3 separate regions of the Homo sapiens genome follow, and all the other regions are linked to region 3. Evidence: promoter capture Hi-C in 16 types of primary human blood cells and fetal thymus (Javierre and others, 2016). All regions are on one chromosome and are shown on one strand. The core of a region is centred on a gene start or on the middle of the fragment in contact, and the rest is flanking DNA. Distances in the headings are between cores, read along the strand shown. Region 1 has its middle 140 kb from the start of PRDM1. Region 2 overlaps ATG5 (autophagy related 5). Region 3 holds the start of PRDM1 (PR/SET domain 1).

Evidence for each region. Contacts are between HindIII fragments. The CHiCAGO score rates a contact against its expected background, and 5 or more counts as called.
Region 1: a fragment that was not itself captured here is called in contact with the fragment with the promoter of PRDM1 in region 3 in 1 of 17 cell types (activated CD4 T cells); the score reaches 5.0 in activated CD4 T cells.
Region 2: a fragment that was not itself captured here is called in contact with the fragment with the promoter of PRDM1 in region 3 in 1 of 17 cell types (activated CD4 T cells); the score reaches 5.4 in activated CD4 T cells.

Annotation. Positions count from the first base shown.
Region 1 is chr6:105,940,083-105,942,896 of GRCh38, forward strand. No RefSeq gene overlaps it. Among named protein-coding and RNA genes, the nearest start is that of PRDM1, 140 kb to the right of the region's middle. The HindIII fragment of the contact is 6,159 bases long and covers 1-2,814 here.
Region 2 is chr6:106,253,302-106,256,001 of GRCh38, forward strand. The region is part of intron 5 of ATG5 (autophagy related 5); the gene reads right to left. Among named protein-coding and RNA genes, the nearest start is that of ATG5, 71 kb to the right of the region's middle. The HindIII fragment of the contact is 3,373 bases long and covers 1-2,700 here.
Region 3 is chr6:106,085,015-106,087,714 of GRCh38, forward strand. PRDM1 (PR/SET domain 1) reads left to right here and starts at 1,322. Exons shown (of 7, transcript NM_001198.4): 1 at 1,322-1,581. The coding sequence starts at 1,540. RefSeq lists an enhancer at 950-1,669. The HindIII fragment of the contact is 5,820 bases long and covers 1-2,700 here.

The DNA.
Region 1 (2,814 bases), core at 175-2,674, 140 kb before region 3:
TCATGCCACTGCACTCCAGCCTGGGCGACAGAGCGAGATTCCATCCCAAATAAATAAATAAATAAATAAATAAATAAATAAATAAATACTGAGAAATCTCTTGCGGAAAAATAATCCAGGCCCCAATCTCTTCCCTTTGAGGTTCAAAATCATGAGTACTCCTTTGATGGCCTGTTACCGTCTCAACTGGCCCCAAAGGGGAGCTCACCATAAGGGAGGAGGTACCTAGACTGATAACCCCAGGCTCACCACTGGATCTATGGGTATTTGAGGAGAAGATGGTTTTAAAACTGCTTTTGGAAGCTCGTCCTGATCCTCCAAATTTTAATTTCCAAGGCTCTGACTCGATAAACTGTATAAACACTAAATAACTGAGTTTAAAATTAAAAAAAAAAAGTATTTTAATCTTTCCCACACGGACTCCTTCCTAGTTCTACTCACAGACAGACACATGCATAGACAGCTGATTGAAGTTGAAGGAAGGCAAAATAAATTGTACCAACAATGAAACATTTTAACCTAAATGAAAAAATTAGTTTTCAAAAGATTAAAATTAGTCCAAACCATTTTTAAGACTAATTTGCCAATGTGCTGTTAATAAAGTTATTATATTTATTCCTAAAATAAGCAACTATGCAAGGCAGGAAGACAGAACATGAAGGATTTCTCCTGGCCGATCTGAACCAGGTATCAAGAAAGAAAACCATGCCTCTTTTTGAAATACAATTTATAGAGTAACAAAATATGGATGTGAGGGAAGGGTGAGATCCCTTTTCTTTCCCAAATTGTCCTAGTGTTGACATTAAGAAGATTAACATGTGATTCTAAGTGACCCTAGGATCCACTTATTTGTCATCTTGGAAACAATAGTTTAACAGTTTTCAAAATAACTGAACAATGTAAACAAACAGCTTCTTTGACTAATCTGGGATCTGCTGCTGCCATAAAGTCGCCTTCAGGACATTTTCAAAAAGAGTTTGGGGGGTTTTTTTGTTTTGTTTTGTTTTATCTCTTTACAGTGTGAAAAGCCTTGCCTGAAAATTGACTAATGTGTAAAAGGAAGCCATCATTCACGCTAATGAGGTCCTTCAACAGGTCCTTCTCCCAGTGCTCCAAGCTGCCCTAGAGCTGAAATGTGAGGCTTCTTTAACCTGGAGCTGGCTGAAAGAATTTCACTACCCTCCCCAGGCATTCAACATAGGCTTCTTTCTAGTACATTTTCTTCAGGTTTTTCATTCACACACTAATCACTAAAATAAAGCACTCCATTTCTAAGTACCTGAAAGGTGCTGACATATGCACACCTCAGATGAATGGGGTGTTTAATCCTCCCATCCACGGCTCCACCTGCACAAAAAACAAAAAACAGCCATGTGCAGTGCATTGGCACCATCCATCTTGTACTCCAAATGTCTCCCTCAGTTCGTTTTCTCTTTCCTTCATCCATCCACCCCAACCACTGGCACATGTACAAAATTTGAATCACATCCAAACCTGAACCAATAAAACTAAGAGGCTCAATATTTTTATTTATCTACGATTATTTCTAAAGCCTGGAAAATTTTGAGTTTACATAAATTCAGAGAAGGAAAATTCTCCATAACCACAGACAGGTTTCATAATCACTCCAAGGAAATGACAAGTTCTTCTTGGGAACAATTCCTTTTGCTTTCTGAAATTTGAGGTGAGAAATTTCATTTGTTTTTCACTGAACTGCAAAAAAATGAATGATGTCATTCTTATACCATGGGAACTGGTACTATAAGTTCTATCAAGAGACATAGTTCTCATTTCCAACATAGATGACTAAATTATGTGTAGGGCTAGTGAGAAAAAGGAGAGGGAGGGTGAAAGCCACATTACTGTTATTGCTTGTTCAGAACCGTATATATTCCCACATTTCTCCCTTCCAGTGTTTTCTTGCTTAAAGGATTAAGGGAATATTTGGGACTTTTCTCTTTGTCTCATTTCCCCTCATTTTCAAGCTGCCAGCTAGTTTTCTAGATGGGTACTGAACAAGAGTCATCTGAGTACTGAAATAAAAGTTCCACCTCCTAAACCGCATTTGTAACAGGGATTGGGTCCAAAGAGATATCTCAGAAAACTGTACCAACCATGTGGTAAAATACCTGCTTCAGAGTCTTTTGATTTACTAAGATAAGATGAGCCTTCTGAAACCTTAGAGACATTACAGTCCAGCCAGATACCTCCTCTCTCTATAAGGAAGCTAAGCACCAAAATGATGAGCTGATTTTTCCCAAGATCACATGGCTAAGTGGAGGCACAATTGAGCCAAGATCTTTTACATTTCTCTTTATTGTATAATTATAAAGGGGGCCAAGAAGACATTTATATTTATAAAATGGAATTTAAGCTAGATTTTGATGTTCAAAGAAATCCTCAAATACTGTTTTCTATTTAAAAAACTCTACCACATTTCGTCTGAAGATTATCACTTCTGTAAGACTATCCAGATCTATCTTCACATTTACTGCTAGCAAATAAATAAAAATATTCTAAAGATAATTGAGTAACTTTCAGGATAATACAATTATTACAGATGGGTACATATTATAGATATTGTCTAAGTCCTAAGAAAATATACCCAAGAAATTTGTAGGACTAGGATGCTAAGGGCAGGCACAGCAAATTTGGGACATATTAATGAAACCCAAGAAGAAGAGTAATAGGTTGCATCCAGGCCTAAATTAAATGTTAGTGATGGGTGGAATCATCCAATCCCGAAAAGGAAAAGTAGACAAAATGTGTTTGAACAAGAATGCTTTTGACAGACTTAAAACTGACTGATTTTAT
Region 2 (2,700 bases), core at 30-2,529, 170 kb after region 3:
GGGCTAGCCTCTGCGTCAGGGCTGAGCAGTGCCAGTCCTGGAGGAAGTTCATCCTTCATCCTGTCCATAAACACACATCTTGGCAGAAGGTTTCTACCCAGGGAAATCTGTGGTTTCAGTGAATCACAAAAGCAATAAAATCCAAATTCCTGGACAATTGTGACCTGGACAGTAACTGTCTGAAAATTAACTGAGAGAAGACATTTACTCCTTTACCCTACAAAGTAAGTGCCACAGTCTTAGAAAATTGGCATCAAGAACAGTAATCAATATATATTTAGACTGCAATTACTTCTCTCCGTGTTCACCACTACCACTTTCACCTCTCTGAGCCAACACAATAGCCTCCTACTTGGTCACTGTCCTATGTTTATCCCCTGTGCACAGCATCCAGAAAGCTCTTTTAAAGTATAAATCATCAACGAGTAAATTTTCAAATATTTTCTAATGGGCCATAAAACATAATGCTTTATGATGCACATTAATGATATGGTTATTTTAAGTTATATACTAAAATCATTTTTAAAAATATGCAACCCACTGCATCTCCTTACTGCCTGCATCTGGGGCAGACTGCTCCCTGACCAAACTCTACATGCAGGCAACCATAAATAATGTGAGTAACAAAATACCTCTTCCCCTAGAAGCAGATTCCTACCAGGCCCATTCCACCCCCTTGGAAAGTTATTGCTGCATTTCTCTGAGATCTCACTGTCTACCTTACTAACTTACTAAGTTACTACCTACCTTACTTACTAAGCTCTAAGTCATGCTATTTTTCTTTTCGGTCCCTAGTAAATACCAAACTTGCTCCCATTTCAGTTTTAGCAGCCTAGAATCCCCACTTTCCTAATCTTTACATAACTGCTTCTCATCATTCAAGTCTCAATAGTGTTACCCCCTCAGAAAGATTTCTTTCATAATCCTAGGTAAGACAGTCCCACTTTCCAATCATTCCCTATACCATCACTCTATTTTATTCTAAATACTTATCGTTACTTCAAATTATGCAATTTACATGTTTAAGTATGTACTGTCGCTCTCCCTCAACCAAAATGTAAGTCCCATGAGGGCAAAGACTTTATCTTCAGCCCTAGAAAGTTCTACGTACTTCAGCCCTAGAAAGTTAATGTACTATGAGTATGCACATAGTACATACTCAACGAATGTTTGTTAATCACTAATAGCTAAATGAATGACTAGGCAATGGAGACAATAAAAACAAGGGAATAGCAAACAAAGTGTGGCATAGTGGAAAAAGTAGACAGTCTGGAGCCACACTGCCTGGGTTTGTTTCCCAGCTTTGTCATTTATTTAATAGTTGTGTGAGTTTTAGCAAGACACTTACTGTGCCTGACACAAATTAAGTGCTACATAAGTGTTTCCTATTATCATTATCTTTTAGGCTGCCTCAGATTCAACAAGAGAAGGCACTGAGCTTCTAGATTCTACCAGGTAAGAAGTGTCAGGACCAGTATGGAAAAGTGGCCCTGCCAAAACCCCATCATTACAGAACTGCTGGACTGTTCAGTCTGGCTCAGAGCCAGGGAGTCTGCATCACTCACATCAAATTCTATGTGAATGTTGCCTGTTGGAGTTATGCAATTGAGCAGCCTTTGCTAGCCATAATTGGGAGAATAAAAGCCCTAACACAGTATAGCTGCAATATTTACAACCAAATACCCTCTATGTCCCTTTTGCTTCCTCCAACTTTTTCAACCACCATATAAGGTTCTATCTTCTCACCCTGTGGGCACAATTTAGTTGCCATTTACCTCCCATCAATTTCACTGCATTCATCTCCAGCCATATCATGTAACGGTGGGAATAAGAATGGTGGTCCAAGAACATCTGGGCCAACATCTGAGGAGTCCTCCAGTCTTGACAAGCAAGTCTGAGTTCCAACTCTATCGCTTAAGACCTAGATAACCATTCCTTTCCAACCCCTTCTTCTTCTAACATGTCTTAATATAGTAGGGGAGAGGACATAAGCATGATGGGGGAAGGGGTTCTTGTTAATCTGAAAAGATGAGAGGTTCACAATTGCTACACCTTATTACAGCATAGCTTTATAAATGGAGTCAGTAAAAACTAGCTACCTCATGAAAACTCTGTAAATCGTTAAAAACTACTGCTTGGAAATTTAAAGAAAATTAATCTTATTAAGTATTGAGAAAAGCAGACTGTAAATTCCAATTTCAACATCACCAGCCAATAAACCATGACTGTAAGTTACAACATCTTTAAACGTATTCCAAGAGTCAATCCCAGTAACTGCCTTCATTTTTAAGTAGACAGGATTCAATTATCGTATTCTAACCAATTAAGAATAATTTATTTCAAATGTATTTTTAAGCCAGGTAATAAAAAAGATTCAAAACTCAAAAATTTCATAATGTAAAAAACAAATTATTCTGTTGTTCTATGTGCTTATATTAAAATTTCTAATAATAATGATCTTCAACTATACTCCCATTTTCCCTTCATCCATGACAATCTTTAAAGCAGCTTGTCAAAAAGAGATTTACAGAGCTACAGCACAGTGGTAGGCCAGGACTAATTATCTAAATGTATTCCTGTTACAATCATCTATAGATTTATAACCAATAACCTCCTGTTCTATTACTTTTTAAAACTACTGTATATTAAGAAAATGTTATTTCTCTTGGCCGAAATTAGTTTATTACTTTCCTAGATGCA
Region 3 (2,700 bases), core at 72-2,571:
TAGAAAAGTTTTCTAAAAGTGAGAAAAGAAATTTTAAAGATAAACAGACATATTTTTTAGGATTGAGTTGGGCTTTTGTTTTGCTTTGTTTCATTTCTTCCTGTAAACAAATACTCAGATGTCCATTTCATTGTATGACTAAGTTGGTATCATTAGGTTGGAACTGGGTGTGTGTATGTGGGTGTGTGTGTGGGTGGATGTGTGTGCACACGTGTATTTAAAATGTTAGAAAAGACATTGCAGGTCGAAGGAGAAATGATTTTAAAAAAACCTACCTATGGTAAGGCAAGCAGGAAAAATGGAAGACCTGGATTTCAATGATCTAAATAATAATTGAAATGGGGTGTTTGCTATAAACATTGTTTCTCTGAATTAAAGGATTCCTTGCTGAAGGCACAAGACCATTGAAGGAAGTAAAGCATCTGGTTTGTTTTGTAATGAGAAGCAGGAATGCAAGGTCCACGCTCTTAATAATAAACAAACAGGACATTGTATGCCATCATCACAGGATGTCCTTCCTTCAACAGAGGACTGACTGGGCTGGAGGAAAAGCTGGCCGGGGCTCAGAATAAGCCCCACTAATTACTGCCTCCGACCGCTTTCCACTTGCAGTGATCAGTTCAATATTCCTCTGAACTGTGAAACGACTAATGCTCTACATTTTACTTACACTCCTGGGAAGTCAGCCTGTGGGTTCTGGGAGGAGAGGAAAGGAAAACAAACAATCTGTAGAATTATAACTTTTGCCTATTTCCCTATTTACTAAATAGTTAAAAGAGGAAAGTTAGTTCTGCCAAGTTTGAACGTTAGCAGGAGAAACGGAATGTTACAACTTTTGGGGCGGGGGGCGGGGAAACGTGCGTTACATACACAACAGCTTGAGGACCAGACAGCTCCACTGTATTACACTAGCTGCAAAAACAATTTAACTTGCTCTTTTGAAGTAAGATTTGTGTCTTTTGTACCTGGGGATTTGAGCTGAGAAATCAGAAACTGTGTAGGTAAATTTTAAGTTTCCTTAATTTAAGGAACGTGCGCCCCCTAATTCTGCCGCGCCAGGAAGGAGGGCGATCTGGAGTGTTTAGAATACAATAGAGCCCAAGTAAGCGTTGAGGTTAAGTGCCTTCAAAGGGAAGTAAGAAGATTCCAAGTCAATGTTGAAATACACATGCGAAGAGAGGAAGCTCTCGGCGGCTGTGCTAGCAATCTGGGGGAAAGCCCTGGGCTCGGCCAGGTGGTGTTGGCCACGTTGGCCACGCCCCCACTTCGCGCAGCCGAGTGGCTAAGGAAATCTTAAGCAGGGAGGGGAAGCCAGACGGTTAACACAGACAAAGTGCTGCCGTGACACTCGGCCCTCCAGTGTTGCGGAGAGGCAAGAGCAGCGACCGCGGCACCTGTCCGCCCGGAGCTGGGACGCGGGCGCCCGGGCGGCCGGACGAAGCGAGGAGGGACCGCCGAGGTGCGCGTCTGTGCGGCTCAGCCTGGCGGGGGACGCGGGGAGAATGTGGACTGGGTAGAGATGAACGAGACTTTTCTCAGATGTTGGATATTTGCTTGGAAAAACGTGTGGGTACGACCTTGGTAAGGAACTTGAATTTTTTTTTTTTAATTCTGAAATTGATCTGAAAACTTTATTTTCTTTTCCTTTATTGTTATTATTATTAATTTTTTTTGGCTAATGTCGCAGTAGAAACATGCTTCTGCTTTAGTGCACTTAGTGCTGTCAAACATTTGTGAGACTTTCCTTATGAATCATTAACCCTTTCAGTTCTAGACATAATTGCCAATTCATTGAAATTTCAGTAGTGGTTCCAGCTCACACTCGTCAAACTATTCCGGGTTGGCTGAAGTTTTCTATTTTATTTTATTTTTAACATGTGTTTGGCGTCATGACTCTACATGTTGGAACTAAATAAAAATAAGCAGGTTTGCTTAAATCATAACTGAGGGAAAAACAACTTTGCATCCAACTTTTTTTTTTTTAAGAGCATCCTATTTAGAGAAGTGGAAGAATGTAAAAACCTCCTTGAAGGACTTCCACAGAATGTTATGTTTACATTTGAACAAACACACATTCTTACATGGAAATGATACCCATATTCCTCATTTTTATCAAACATGTCTATATGAGAAAACCCTTACAGAAGTTGTTTACCTTTTTTTGCCTTTGGAAAACAGTTTTTTTCTGAGTGTGAGGGAGGATTTTGGGGGAATATCCTCATCAATGTACAAGTGGAAGCAGAGCTTGTCCTCCAAGTCTTCTAAATTTGTTATAACTTTAGTTACAGTAAACTGTAGTACATCAGTGACTTCTGGGAATTCATACACTTTCAGATTTAAATGGAAAGTGCTATTTGTAGCTGAGGACTCCTAAAGGAATTCTCTCCAGGGAATTTTATTAAACGGTTTTATGTTTTGTTTTTGCCTTTTCAATTTGGTATGAGATGCTTGCAAGTCAGAAGACACTGCAGGCTGTTTTCCCCTTCACCCATTTTTCCTCCTCTTTTCCTGTGGTCCAAGTGATTTCTAAGAGGCCGTAGCTCAGTGATGCTGGCAGGATGCAACCCTTTTCAGTCTTCCATGTGAGAGGATGAAAGAGAGCTCGCAGCAGAGGGAGGAGGCAGTTGTTTTGAAAGTTGTTTTGCGTTGGGAGCTGGTGGGAAAGTTCGGTCTTCCCCATTTGGAAAAGGCAGGCTGGGT